Regions from separate parts of the Homo sapiens genome. Here regions 1 and 3 are each linked to region 2. Evidence: promoter capture Hi-C in 16 types of primary human blood cells and fetal thymus (Javierre and others, 2016). All regions are on one chromosome and are shown on one strand. Each heading gives the region's core, a stretch centred on a gene start or on the middle of the fragment in contact. The rest is flanking DNA. Distances are from core to core; before and after follow the strand shown. Region 1 overlaps FXR1 (FMR1 autosomal homolog 1). Region 2 holds the start of USP13 (ubiquitin specific peptidase 13). Region 3 overlaps FXR1 (FMR1 autosomal homolog 1).

Region 1 (3,619 bases), core at 540-3,039, 1.3 Mb before region 2:
ACAGAAGCTTTCACTTGGGATTAGAGTTATTTCTTATGACACAGCAGAGCTTCTTTAACGTATTATATTTTCAGTATAGAGAAAGGTAGAAAAGGGGGGCTGAGAAGAAACTAAAAACCAATAAAAACCAAGATTGACTGTCCTTGCAGAGATCATCAGGGAAACCTATCAGTGGCTGTTAACAGCCATCTGGGAGATAAACACAAACAACTAAAAACAAAGACTTTTAGAAAGCCTGAAGCTTCTATCAGGATGATTTGAGAGTAATCTTGGAAGTGGTAGGAATACTGGAACTGGAAATGAATAAACCAAAACCTACTAATGAACTTTATCGTATACCATGATTAGAAAAAAGCTATGAGAAAAAGCAGGAAGTCCAATATACCAATCAGGGTCCGTTAAACTCAATTTTAGCTTTTCCATTTCTTTTATAAACAGATCTAACTATTCAAAGGGATCAATATCTCATGACTTATATTCTTCCTTACGACATATTCCAAAAAACAAGAAAGTTTACTTCTCTAAGACTAGAACAGAACTCACCCTTATTCTGTAATTATTATATGTATCCACTGGGCCCTTTTATAAATGTAAGGTAGAATCTAGTGATCTTATTTTTCCTATATCTTGAAACACTTTACAATTTCATCAACATTCATCAGTTATTCTCAGCTATGCTTTAAATAAAGACTAAAATGGAACAGAGGAATGATGGCATCACCTAGAGGATACAACAGTGAAATAAACTGTTAATGTTCATACAGTTTCCTTACTGCATAGCCTGAGGTATCACATCTCTTTCAAAACAGTTCAAAAAGACCAAAGACACCATCCTTGTAGTCTGCTTTTAGCTACCGTTGACCAGTTGATAATTATGAATTTTTTTCACTCATAATTGCGAAGAGAAGAAAAATTTACAGAGGAAGGCCTTTCTAATTATTAGAGATATCAGACAACAGATGCAAAGAGTACTGATAAATGTGAAATTATCTTACAAAGCAAAACCTCAGACTATGAAGTCTGAGATGGTGACATCTTAGATGAATGTTCTCAATGTATTTCTCAAACGATGTATTTCTCAAACGATGTATTTCTCAAACATTGTTCTCAAACAATGTATTTCTAAGGAGAAGAGGGAAAGATGATGTGTATTCTCATCCAGTTAATGACTCAACTGAGACTCCATCATGCAAAATCCTCCAACAAGAACCCAGATCATCCTGGTTTGCTAAAAGGGTATATGACAGTATTCTTCCATCTTTTAAGATGTTTGTGGTCAGGCACGGTGGCTTACACCTATAATCCCAAAACTTTGGGGAGCCAAAGCAGGTCGACTGCTTGAGAGCTCAGGAGTTCAAGACCACCCTGGACAACATGATGAAACCCCATCTCTATCAAAAATACAAAAGAAATTAGCCAGGTGTCGTAGCGTGCACCTGTGGTGCCACCTACATGGAAGGCTAGGGTGGAAGGATTGCTGGAGCCTGGGAAGTTGAGACTGCAGTGAGCCAAGATTGTACCACTACACTCAACCCTGGGTGACAGAACGAGACCCTGTCCAGGGGGAAAAAAAAGGTAAAATAAAAATTGAAGATAAAATTTTAAGAAATGTTTGTGTGCCAAAATGTACTTCGTAAGTGGAAATGTCAAAAGCAGATGTGTATACAAAGGTAACTCGAAAAAGAAAGATAATGAAATGCAAAAATATTCAATAGATTAGTCAATCCAACTGACTAAATGTGCTAAAATTACAGCACAGAGATGGCTATCCCTTCTTCAATAGAATGAGATGTCATTAAAAGTTCCAAAGTATTCAAGGACTGCATTCTGATGATCCAACTGTAAGAATAACCAGAATAAGCTAGAATTTATTAGAGATATATTTTAAATCTGCTATCAATATTTATAAGATTGGTATGTTCTAGGTTCATGTATAACAGTGAGCAGTTAGTTACATTTAGAGAACTGCATTCATTGTAGATACATATATCATCAAAACCTGGAAAATATGAAAAAGTTAGATTTGCTATGTTTAAACCCTCACTAAAATGTCTAATAAGGCCATGCGTGGTGGGGCTCACGCCCGTAATCCGAGTACTCTGGGAGGCTGAGGTGGGCAGATCACTTTGGCTCCAGAGTTCGAGACCAGCCTGGACAACATGGTGAAACACCATCACTATGCAAAATACAAAAGTTAGCCAGGCATGGTGGCATGTGCCTGTAATCTCAGCTACTTGGGGGCCTGGGGTAGGGTGGAAGGATCTCTTGAGCCCAGGAAGTCAAGGCTGCAGTGAGTTGTGTTTGCTTCACTATACTCCAGCATGGAGTCAATAATGGCCTTTAAAAAAGTCTAATAATGGGGGGCACAGTGGCTCATGCCTGTAATCCCAGCACTTTTGGAGGCTGAGGCAGGAGGACTGCTTGAGCCCAGGAGTTTGAGACCAACCTGGACAACACAGGAAGATTTCGTCTCTATAAAAAAAATTTTTTTTTAATTAGCCAGGTGTGGTTGGTGCATGCCTCTAGTCCCAGCTACTTGGGAGGCTGAGGAAGGAGGATCACTTGAGACTGGGAGGTCAAGGCTGCAGTGAGCCATGATCATGCCACTATACTCTAAACTGGGTGACAGAGCGAGACCCTGTCTCAAAAAAAAAAAAGGTCCAATAACGACCTTACTACCCTTTCATTCTTTCTGCTACAAAATTATTTGGTAAACGATCAGTGATGACTGTTTTCCCAAGTATACTGAGGGTTACAAAAAGAATATTCTAGGCCGGGCGCGGTGGCTCACGCCTGTAATCCCAGCACTTTGGGAGGCCGAGGTGGGTGGATCACCTGAGGTCAGGAGTTCGAGACCAGCCTCAACATGGAGAAACCCTGTCTCTACTAAAAATACAAAATTAGCCAGGCGTGGTGGTGCATGCCTGTAATCCCAGCTACTCGGGAGGCTGAGGTAGGAGAATTGCTTGAACCTGGGAGGCGGAGGCTGCGGTGAGCTGAGATCGCGCCATTGCCCTCCAGCCTAGGCAACAAGAGCGAAACTGCATCTCAAAAAAAAAAAGAATATCCTAACAACCAAAAGAAGGTGCCCATTCGAGTAACTATCTCAGAGAGGCAGTTCGAATATCTCTTGTTAATGTGGGTAAATCAAGCCTCATTTGCTGAAAATGTTATGTCTTAAAACTACCTAACCCCCTTATTCTATTTTCACCAAAGCATAATCATTCATGAATCTGGCTTTCTAAATAAACCATCTCAACTGCCTGGAGGCTTTTCTCACTGAACGATGAAATGCTGAACTCCATTTTAAACTTAATATCCACTTCTGTAAGCTTCATAACTTCACCCCTGAAAGACCAAGTTACTCTCATAAAGTGACTAAACCTAAATTCCTAAGCCTGAATCAAAAACACTACAAATTTGGCTGCACAGCCCACACCTGTAATCCCAGCACTCTGGGAGGCTGAGGCGGGTGGATCACCTGAGGTCAGGAGTTTGAGACCAACCTGGCCAACATGGCAAAACCCCGTCTCTACTAAAAGTACAAAAATTAGCTGGGCATGGTGGTGGGCGGGCGCCCGTAATCCCAGCTACTTGGGAGGTTGAGGCAGGAGAATCG
Region 2 (4,173 bases), core at 1,523-4,022:
GGAGGCCAAGGTGAGTGGATCACTTGAGGTCAGGAGTTCGAGAGCAGCCTAACCAACATGGCGAAACCCACCTCTACTAAAAATACAAAACTAGCCAGGTGTGGTGGCACACGCCTGTAATCCCAGCTACTTGGCAGGCTGAGGCAGGAGAATCACTTGAATCCAGGAGGCAGAGGTTGCAGTGAGCTGAGATTGTGCCATTGCACTCCAGCCTGGGCAACAAGAGCAAAACTCAAAAAAAAAACAAAACAAAACAAAAAAAACCTTCCCATTATCACGCACTGTGCTTTAAGATAAATATTATCAAACCTTCCCTTCCTCCCCTGAAACATAGATAATGAAATATACTGATTCATCAGCCTTGTAAATAATCCCAGTCTCCCCTAAGGAACTGCTGTGATATGATTGCAATCATCAGTCTACACTGGACGAGATGTTTCTAGAATAGTAACATTCTAGAAACACACACAGTAAGCTCCCAATAACTATTTGTGGAAATGAATTAAAACAATCAGCCTTTTTTCCCACACCTGTTATCCACTGCATTATGCAGCAAAAACTTCCAAGAGCAAAGTTTGTAAGCAGAACTTGAAGAAGAGCCCAAATCAAAACATGGGGAAAGTCATTTGACCCACTTTCCATGTTGTGCTATCCTAAAAAACTTAGGCCACTTTCTTCTTCCTGGAGGTAACAATCTGTCAATTGCTTAAGTTAGGACCATCATCCCTCTCCACCTTTAGAAGCTATTAGTGGGAACTGCCCAACACTGGCCATACAATCTGAAAATGGCATTTTCAAATAATTTATGGATAACATCCTAAAAAAGGACTGCCGATTGTCACACTCCACTCTGTGGATCTTTTCGAAAGAAAAAAAAAGTAAACAATCAAAAATTAAGTTAGGTTTCATCCCTCAAATGATATGGAGTTACCATAAATAAAAAAACTAAATGTCACAGAGAGGATACTAACTCTGATACTCCAGTGTGTGTCGAGCAAAAGTGCTTTGAAGCCAGCCAAAATCAACCCACAGATAATAAAGGAAACTTTGGAAATGTTGCCGCTCATTTGGACTTTTCTTTTCCCCTCTGACAATAGTCCACATGCTATGAATAAAATACATTAGACCATTGCGAGACCTGCCTCGGTCCATCCAATCCATGCGCCTCCCAATGCATTGAGATCTGCCGGGTGACATATGAGATCTAAAGTGGGTGGATAAAAATAACCTGGTCCTCAAAAAGACATGATAAACGCCAGACAGCTGAGTCACTTTGAAGCCCATTTTGACTTTTGAAAGGGACATTCACCCTCCTGCTGCTTCTCACACATTCACATAGAACCAGGTGAAAACCACCACCAACCGCCCCGGGTGGAAGGCGGCGATCCCTCTCAGCTTCCTCCTCATTCTCCGAGGTCACGACTCGGGATTGAACTTTTAATAATTTATACTTGCGCATGTCAGTCCAAGTGACTCATTTAGAAGGGCAAGGTGGGGAAGGCTTAAGAAAACCATCGCAATCCAGTAGATCCCCTATTTCTGCTGCCCGAGTGGAGGCACCGGAAGGTTTCGTCTGACATTTTTTTTTTTTTTTTTTTGAGACGGAGTCTCGCTCTGTCGCCCAGGCTGGAGGGCAGTGGCGCGATCTCGGCCCACTACAGCCTCCTCCTTCCCGGTTCAAGCGATTCTCAAGCCTCAGCCTCCCGAGTAGCTGGGACTACAGGCTCCCGCCACCGCGCCCGGCTAATTTTGGGGTTCTTTTTTAGTAGAGATGGGGTTTCGCCATATTAGCCAGGCTGGTCTCGAACTCCTGACCTCAAACGATCCGCCCGCCTCCGCCTCTTAAAAAGTGCTAGGATTTCAGACGTGAGCCACCGCGCCTGGCCCTGACATTCTAAAGACAAGAAAAGGAGTGGGGTGAAATGGGAACTGGTGGAAGAAAAGCTCAGAGAGCAAATCAGAATTGTCCAGAAGTGGGGATCCCTGAGCAAAGCAAGTGGTCCCAGAAAAAGAAGGGCTGTGTGTGTCCCGGGGTGTGGGGGGATCATCCCGTCCACCTACCCGCCCTGCGCTCTGCCCCGCGGAGGACGCAAACGATCTGCAACGTGCAGTTCGGAACAGGGAACTCTTGTATTTCATCTATCTTTAAACGGCGGCGGGGCTGTGTGCAAGCTGCTGGGAATCGGGCCCTTCCAGCCTGGGGAGGCTGGCGGAGCAAAACCACCAGCACGAGCCAGTCCTCGGCTGCAGCAGCCCTGGGGCGCTCACTAAGTGTCTGCCGAACTGCAGTGTTCCTGAGCCAACTCTGCCGCCCGGAGGAAGAGAAGAGGTCCCGGCCGCCACTGCGCATCTTCTCCCCCGGCTTCACGTGCCGCAGGCCGCCGGCCCCGCGACCCTCCCCCGAGGCGCCTCACTTACGGGAGAGTCGTAGGAGAAGGCGCACTCGTTCTTGTAGACCCTGTCGCCGGACCTGGGCACGCGGATCGTGGGCATGTGGGGCACTAGCAGCTCGCCGATGTCTCCTGCAGCCATCTTCCTGCCTCCGCTGCCGCCCGGCATGCCGAACAGGGCGCCCCGGCGCTGCATGGCCTCGGCGCGCACCGGAGCCGAGCGAGCCGAGCCGGAGCCGGAGCGCGGGGTCTGCCGGCGGCGGCGGCGCCAGCGAGCGGGCTGACGGGCGGGCTGCGCGGGCAACGGCAGCCGGCCGAGCCGGGGCGGGCGGGGAGAGCGGGCTGCGGGGCGGGAGCGGGCACCGCGGGCTTGGGGCGGACTGGCGACGCTATTTTTAATCCAATGGCGAGTCTCCGGCCCAGCTGCAGCGTCAGGCGGGGCTGGGGAGCGCCAGCCGCAGCGTGCCGGGGAGGGGGCGCTGGAGAGGGGCCCTGCGCGTGGGCCGGGCGCGGCGGCGGGGGGCGGAGGGCGAACCCCTGAGGCGTTGGCGCGGGAGCTCGAGCGGGCTGGCGGCCGAACGCGGCGCGGGAGGGCCCCGGGAAAACACCACGGAGGTGTTTTCTATCCCGAATTGTTGGCTTGCAGAGGGGCAACTCCGAGGAGGCCAACACAAAGAGCAGGATTGGGGGTTTTAAAAACCGCTTGCTTTTAAAACAGCCGAAGACTAGGGCGGTGACGTCCCCGGATTGGATAGGGGCGGGACTCGATGTGCAAATCTGAAATCTAACGTGAGGCTTAAATCTAAATTTGCGCCATGCACTTCAGTGCTTCCCCACTAAGCTTCGTTCCTTACTTTAACATCCAAGGCTCAAAAATAGAGCGAATAGAATAAGATCGAGTGAGGATAGAGGGTGTGTGTGTGGGGGAGGGCGGGGTGTGTGTGGGAGTGTGTGTGTAATAATAATACAGGTTTTCTTACATATTGGGGGAAGTCAGGGATGGTCAAGATTTTTTCAGGGCGTCGGAAGGCTTTCTATTTTTCTCTGCCTTTGGAGTATCTTCTATGTGATTCAAAGTTCTCATGTCGAACATTCAGTGGCCTGATTTGAGGATTTTGTAGGCAGGCATACATATTCCTGTCTTGATCATCAGTTCCTCAAAATAAATGATGAATGGGGTTGGCCTCGGGGGTTGATCATTTGCAAGCAGAGCATGTCTCCCAGCATACTCTCATTCTCTCCAAAAAACCCACAAGACGGGTTCAATGACATTGAGGTTCTCTAACTACACCCAACATATGTATTCATGACAGAGTATCCAGTGATCCCTGCCAGTTAATGAAATGCAGAAATAGCGAGAAATAGTGAACCAAAACGCTAATTTTTGTAAGCCTCTCTCAGATCAGATAGTCCTTAAGTTCTTTTTTTTTTCTTACTTTTTTTCTCTTTTAACTCTCCCTGGTTCTCCAGACCTATCTCAAGATTTCCATACCCTCAAGCAAGCCTCGAGCGCACCACACTTTCTTATAACTCAGCACTCCCAAATGCTATCTGTTGGAAAAGGAGGAGGTGGCACTGAGCAAAAAATCAGACACTACTGTCATCTTCCTCATTGGGCAGATCCTCTCAGCGAGCTTTTGCTTTGAATTTAGTCTCATCAGCTTATTACCTTTCACGTTAATGGATGATGTTTTCTCCAATTACAGAGATAAACTTGGTTTTACAAAACTTAAAATTTAATCTTAGATTAAATACAAATTAAATCAGTGAGACACTGTTTTTC
Region 3 (4,008 bases), core at 166-2,665, 1.3 Mb before region 2:
TAAAGAGAAGGGGCGAAGGAAAAAAACAAATCAGGTCACTGCTAAGATCCAAGTCCAAATGTAGAAAAATGGAACAACTCCAAAGCTGAAGAAGAATAAGGGAGAATTTAGGATTAGAGAATTGTTGACTATCACCACTCCACTGTCCCCCTTCCTATCTGGGTTAGACCCAATCCTCACAGTGAAATACATTTTAGAAAATGTTCATTTATAAAGTGTTAAATTAGATTCTGGCTTTCAGAGTCTTCATTTTAGTGAAATGTTGTTAAATAAAATAATTCCAGATGTGAGATGTTAATATATTCAAATACGCCAAATGAGTAAGTAAAATATTTTTTAAAAGCTAGTAAAAAGACTTGCTATATGCAATCTTGGCAGTGATTCGCACACTTTTCATTTTTTACTTAAAGAGGGTAGACAAAAGATGATTCCTAGAAGTATCACCACCACCATTACTAGGTATTTACTGGGAAATGTATAAAACTGTACTAGTAAAGTATTTGAAAAACAAGTTACATATGTATTCTTTGTAAATATAATAAACATGACAATGAACTACCAACTTAAAAACATGCTTTGCTTCATTACATAACTGCTTGGAAATTTTATATATTTTACTGTCATTTTAATGTATACTATCACTACTATTAAGACGTGTACTAAACCTTCAGAACTACCTTCTACCCTCAAAGCCAAGACAGAGTAATGAACTAATTATAAGAAAATGTGTTAGAGCACCTAAACTATAACTACTATTATTACTATTACCAAAAAAAAAAAAAAAAAATTTTTTTTTACCATAACCGGAGGTGTAATTAGGTCCCCGACGACCTCTGCCTCTTCCGCTATAAGACCTAGAACCTTGTACAGAAGAGACGGTACTTTCATCAGTGGCATATCCTTTCTCTTTTTCAGGCCCTCTGGTGGAAGAAGGTCTGAAACCCATACCAATCTGTCGCAGCTGTTCATCAATCTGTAGGCGTTCCATTCTTAGCTGTTCTACTTCCTACAATCAAAACAAAAAAGAGTAAGTCTTCTTATATATAACTTTTTGTTTTCCTAAAGCCTAAAGCTAAAGCTGTACTCCCTATCAAAGCTGTGACCTTAGGCAATTAGATGGTAAAGAGCATTGTGTTCCTAGTCAACAGAATTGATGAGGTCATTTGCTGTTTCTGTTCAACATTTACTGAATGGTCTAGAGTGTGCCAAACATGCTACTATAGGCATACAATATAAAAGAAGACATGGACTCTCCCCAATCAAGGGGATGTTTAACAGACAGCTTTAAAATAAGTTATTTATTAAATAGCTAACAATTATACAATATTACCAGATTTTGCCCTCAAGGAGTTAGAATTGCTGAATGAGATACAGGTAGCATCTATGAAAGGTACTATTAACAAGCTACTTTCCTATCAAAGCAGTGACACGAGTTGTGACCTAGAAGGAGTGCTAGACTTTGTCATTCAGAAATTGAGGTCATTACAGGATGCAAAGGTTAGATGTCTAGAGAAAGCTCTTGGTTAAAAGATGAGTACTGAAAGATAAAGCACTGGCTTCAAAATGCCAGCTTTAATTGCGACTTTTCATATAAAGATGAATTTCAAAAGAAAAGAAATGACATTATCAGAGTGATCTCAAAATAGTAACAGCAACAATGATACGACAGACTGGGAGGAAAACATACTAGAGGCAGAGAACAGGTGAGGATATTATTATACTTTAAAAAGAAACACAGCAGGAATAAAAGGGAAAGAGTAGAAAATAAAATTAAAATGTTTAATAATTTATGGGTCATATTTTTCTAAAAACCCTTGCTCTTTATGTATCAACTCAAATAGACTATTTTGTTAACAATGGTTACAAATTATCGAGTAATGTCAGTGGAGATGATGCAGATGATTTGCATAATGCCAAAGTTACCAAGGAAGCCCAATGTCACTCCTGGTTCTGTACCCTATTTGTATGTAAAGTACAAAAGTAAAAACAAAATGGCTCCAGTATGAACATGCAGATACATAAGTGATCTGAGAGTCAAATTGCATGAAGACAAAGGAATCATTTCTTAAGAAAGAAAGAAATATAAAAGCTCAGAAAGAAGAGAAATTATGCACACAAGGCCAATCATTTTATGATGACAAAGGACTTTTTAAATTCTCATGTAGAACAATGGCAAATCTGAAGCTGAATTAACAAAAAATATTTAAAGATTTGAAGTTTACTTCAAATATAAAATGTTTAATGTGAGGACATTTTAAATTTGTAGCAAATGTACAACATTTATGTAGTAAATGCAGCAACAATATCAGAATATAGTATGAACCGTATACAAACCTTTAGATAGGCAATATGATACTCTAGAAGAACCTGCACATTTCCAATGCTTTCTTTAGTGCCAACAAATACAAATGGAACCATACCCTGTTTAAAAAAAAAAAAAAGTATTCAGTGTTTAATATTTTAACAAAGTTCTAGCCTAAAAGTGACATGAAACTGACAGGCAGGCACACACACACACACCTTTTTTTTTTTTTTTTTTTTTTTTTTTTGAGATGACGTCTTGCTCTGTTGCCCAGGCTACAGTGCAGTGTTACAATCACAGCTCACTGCAGCATCAAACTCCTGGGCTCAAGTGATTCTCCTGTCTCAGCCTCCAGAGTAGCTGGGACTATAGATGCGTGTCACCACAACCAGCTATTACTTTTTATTTTTTGTAGAGACAGGGTCTTGCTCTGTTGCCCAACTCCTTGCCTCAAGCAATCCTCCTGCCTTGGCTTCCCAAAGCGCTGGGATTATTGACTTCGTAAAGAGGTTACAGGCGTGAGCCACTGTACCCAGCCCCAATATATAATTAGGAAAACTCTTCTGAAACACGCAGCAATTTACATGTACTAAACTTCAAGATTTAAGGAGAAAAAAATGCTAAAATCCATGTAAGTTGAAATACTCAGATTTTCAATAACTTGTCATATTTGCACCCCAATTTACTGTTGTAAATTGTCTTCTGTGTGCTAAACACTTTAAAAATAATTTTAAAAAATCAGTTTATATCAAGTTTTCTGATTTATAATTAATTTAATTTTCCAAGTATATAAATCAACTTTTAAAGTTAAAATGATTTTCTGGCAGGTCATGGTGACTCACACCTGTAATCCTAGCACTTTGGGAGGCTGAGGCAGGTGGATCACTTGAGTTCATGAGTTCGAGACCAGCCTGGGCAGCATGGAGAAAGCCCATCTCTACAAAATATACAAAAATTAGCTGGCAGGGTAGCACATGCCTGTAGTCCCAGCTACTTGGGAGGCTGAGGTAGGAAGATAGCTTGAGCCTGGGAGGCAGAGATTGCAGTGAGCCAAGACTGTGCCACTGCCCTCCAGCCTGGACAAGAGAGCAAGAATCTGTCTCCAGAAACAAAAAACAACGATTTTCCTTCAAACTGTCTATAAACTTACAGACTAGATAGATACATCACCTTAGTAGGTATAGCTTTAAAGCATAATAAAGCACATTAACCCAGTTATCCCTACAGTATGTGCTCAGGTAACAAAATCTTGAGTGTCTGTGTACTACAAGAGGTACTTCCTGACCACTAAAAGAAATATCACCTCCAGAGCATAAATATTTACACAATGTAAAATTAAAGGAATTATTAAGATACGTAGAGGTATTCAAGTAAATCAAAGTATTAGGCCAGACTTGGTTTACTTTGCTGAACTTCTGAATAAGAAGATTTTTAAAAAGTGGCAGAAAAGAGAAATAAGATGGCACACTGTGAATTTTTCTTCTTTAAAGAAACATACTTCCAGCTTCTTAATGGCTGAGAAAAATGAGAGTAAAGCTTAACTCCCCCAATCAGTTTCCATGTCTCCCATTTTCTTCATTTTACAGAATGGTTTCTAACAGTTAAACAGAATGGTTTAGGGATTTTTTTGTTCTAAATATGAAACTAAGCGTGGTTTAAGACATTTTAGTTCTATATATGACTCAATTATTTTCAAAGTAATTTTT

The links. The method cuts DNA at HindIII sites, captures the fragments that hold promoters and counts their contacts. A CHiCAGO score of 5 or more calls a contact.
Region 1: a contact is called between a fragment that was not itself captured here and the fragment with the promoter of USP13 in region 2, in 4 of 17 cell types (M0 macrophages, M1 macrophages, naive CD8 T cells and 1 more). The highest score is 6.8, in M0 macrophages.
Region 3: a fragment that was not itself captured here is called in contact with the fragment with the promoter of USP13 in region 2 in 1 of 17 cell types (M1 macrophages); the score reaches 6.1 in M1 macrophages.

The regions. Positions count from the first base shown.
Region 1 is chr3:180,943,365-180,946,983 of GRCh38, reverse strand. All of the region lies in intron 3 of FXR1 (FMR1 autosomal homolog 1), which reads right to left. Among named protein-coding and RNA genes, the nearest start is that of FXR1, 33 kb to the right of the region's middle. The HindIII fragment of the contact is 3,091 bases long and covers 244-3,334 here.
Region 2 is chr3:179,651,639-179,655,811 of GRCh38, reverse strand. USP13 (ubiquitin specific peptidase 13) reads right to left here and starts at 2,772. Exons shown (of 21, transcript NM_003940.3): 1 at 2,419-2,772. The coding sequence starts at 2,586. RefSeq lists an enhancer at 2,299-2,942 and silencers at 2,611-2,950, 2,961-3,040. The HindIII fragment of the contact is 8,280 bases long and covers 1-3,233 here.
Region 3 is chr3:180,959,881-180,963,888 of GRCh38, reverse strand. It overlaps FXR1 (FMR1 autosomal homolog 1), which reads right to left. Exons shown (of 17, transcript NM_005087.4): 11 at 2,335-2,421; 12 at 949-1,006; 13 at 799-861. Among named protein-coding and RNA genes, the nearest start is that of DNAJC19, 28 kb to the left of the region's middle. The HindIII fragment of the contact is 4,850 bases long and covers 1-3,840 here.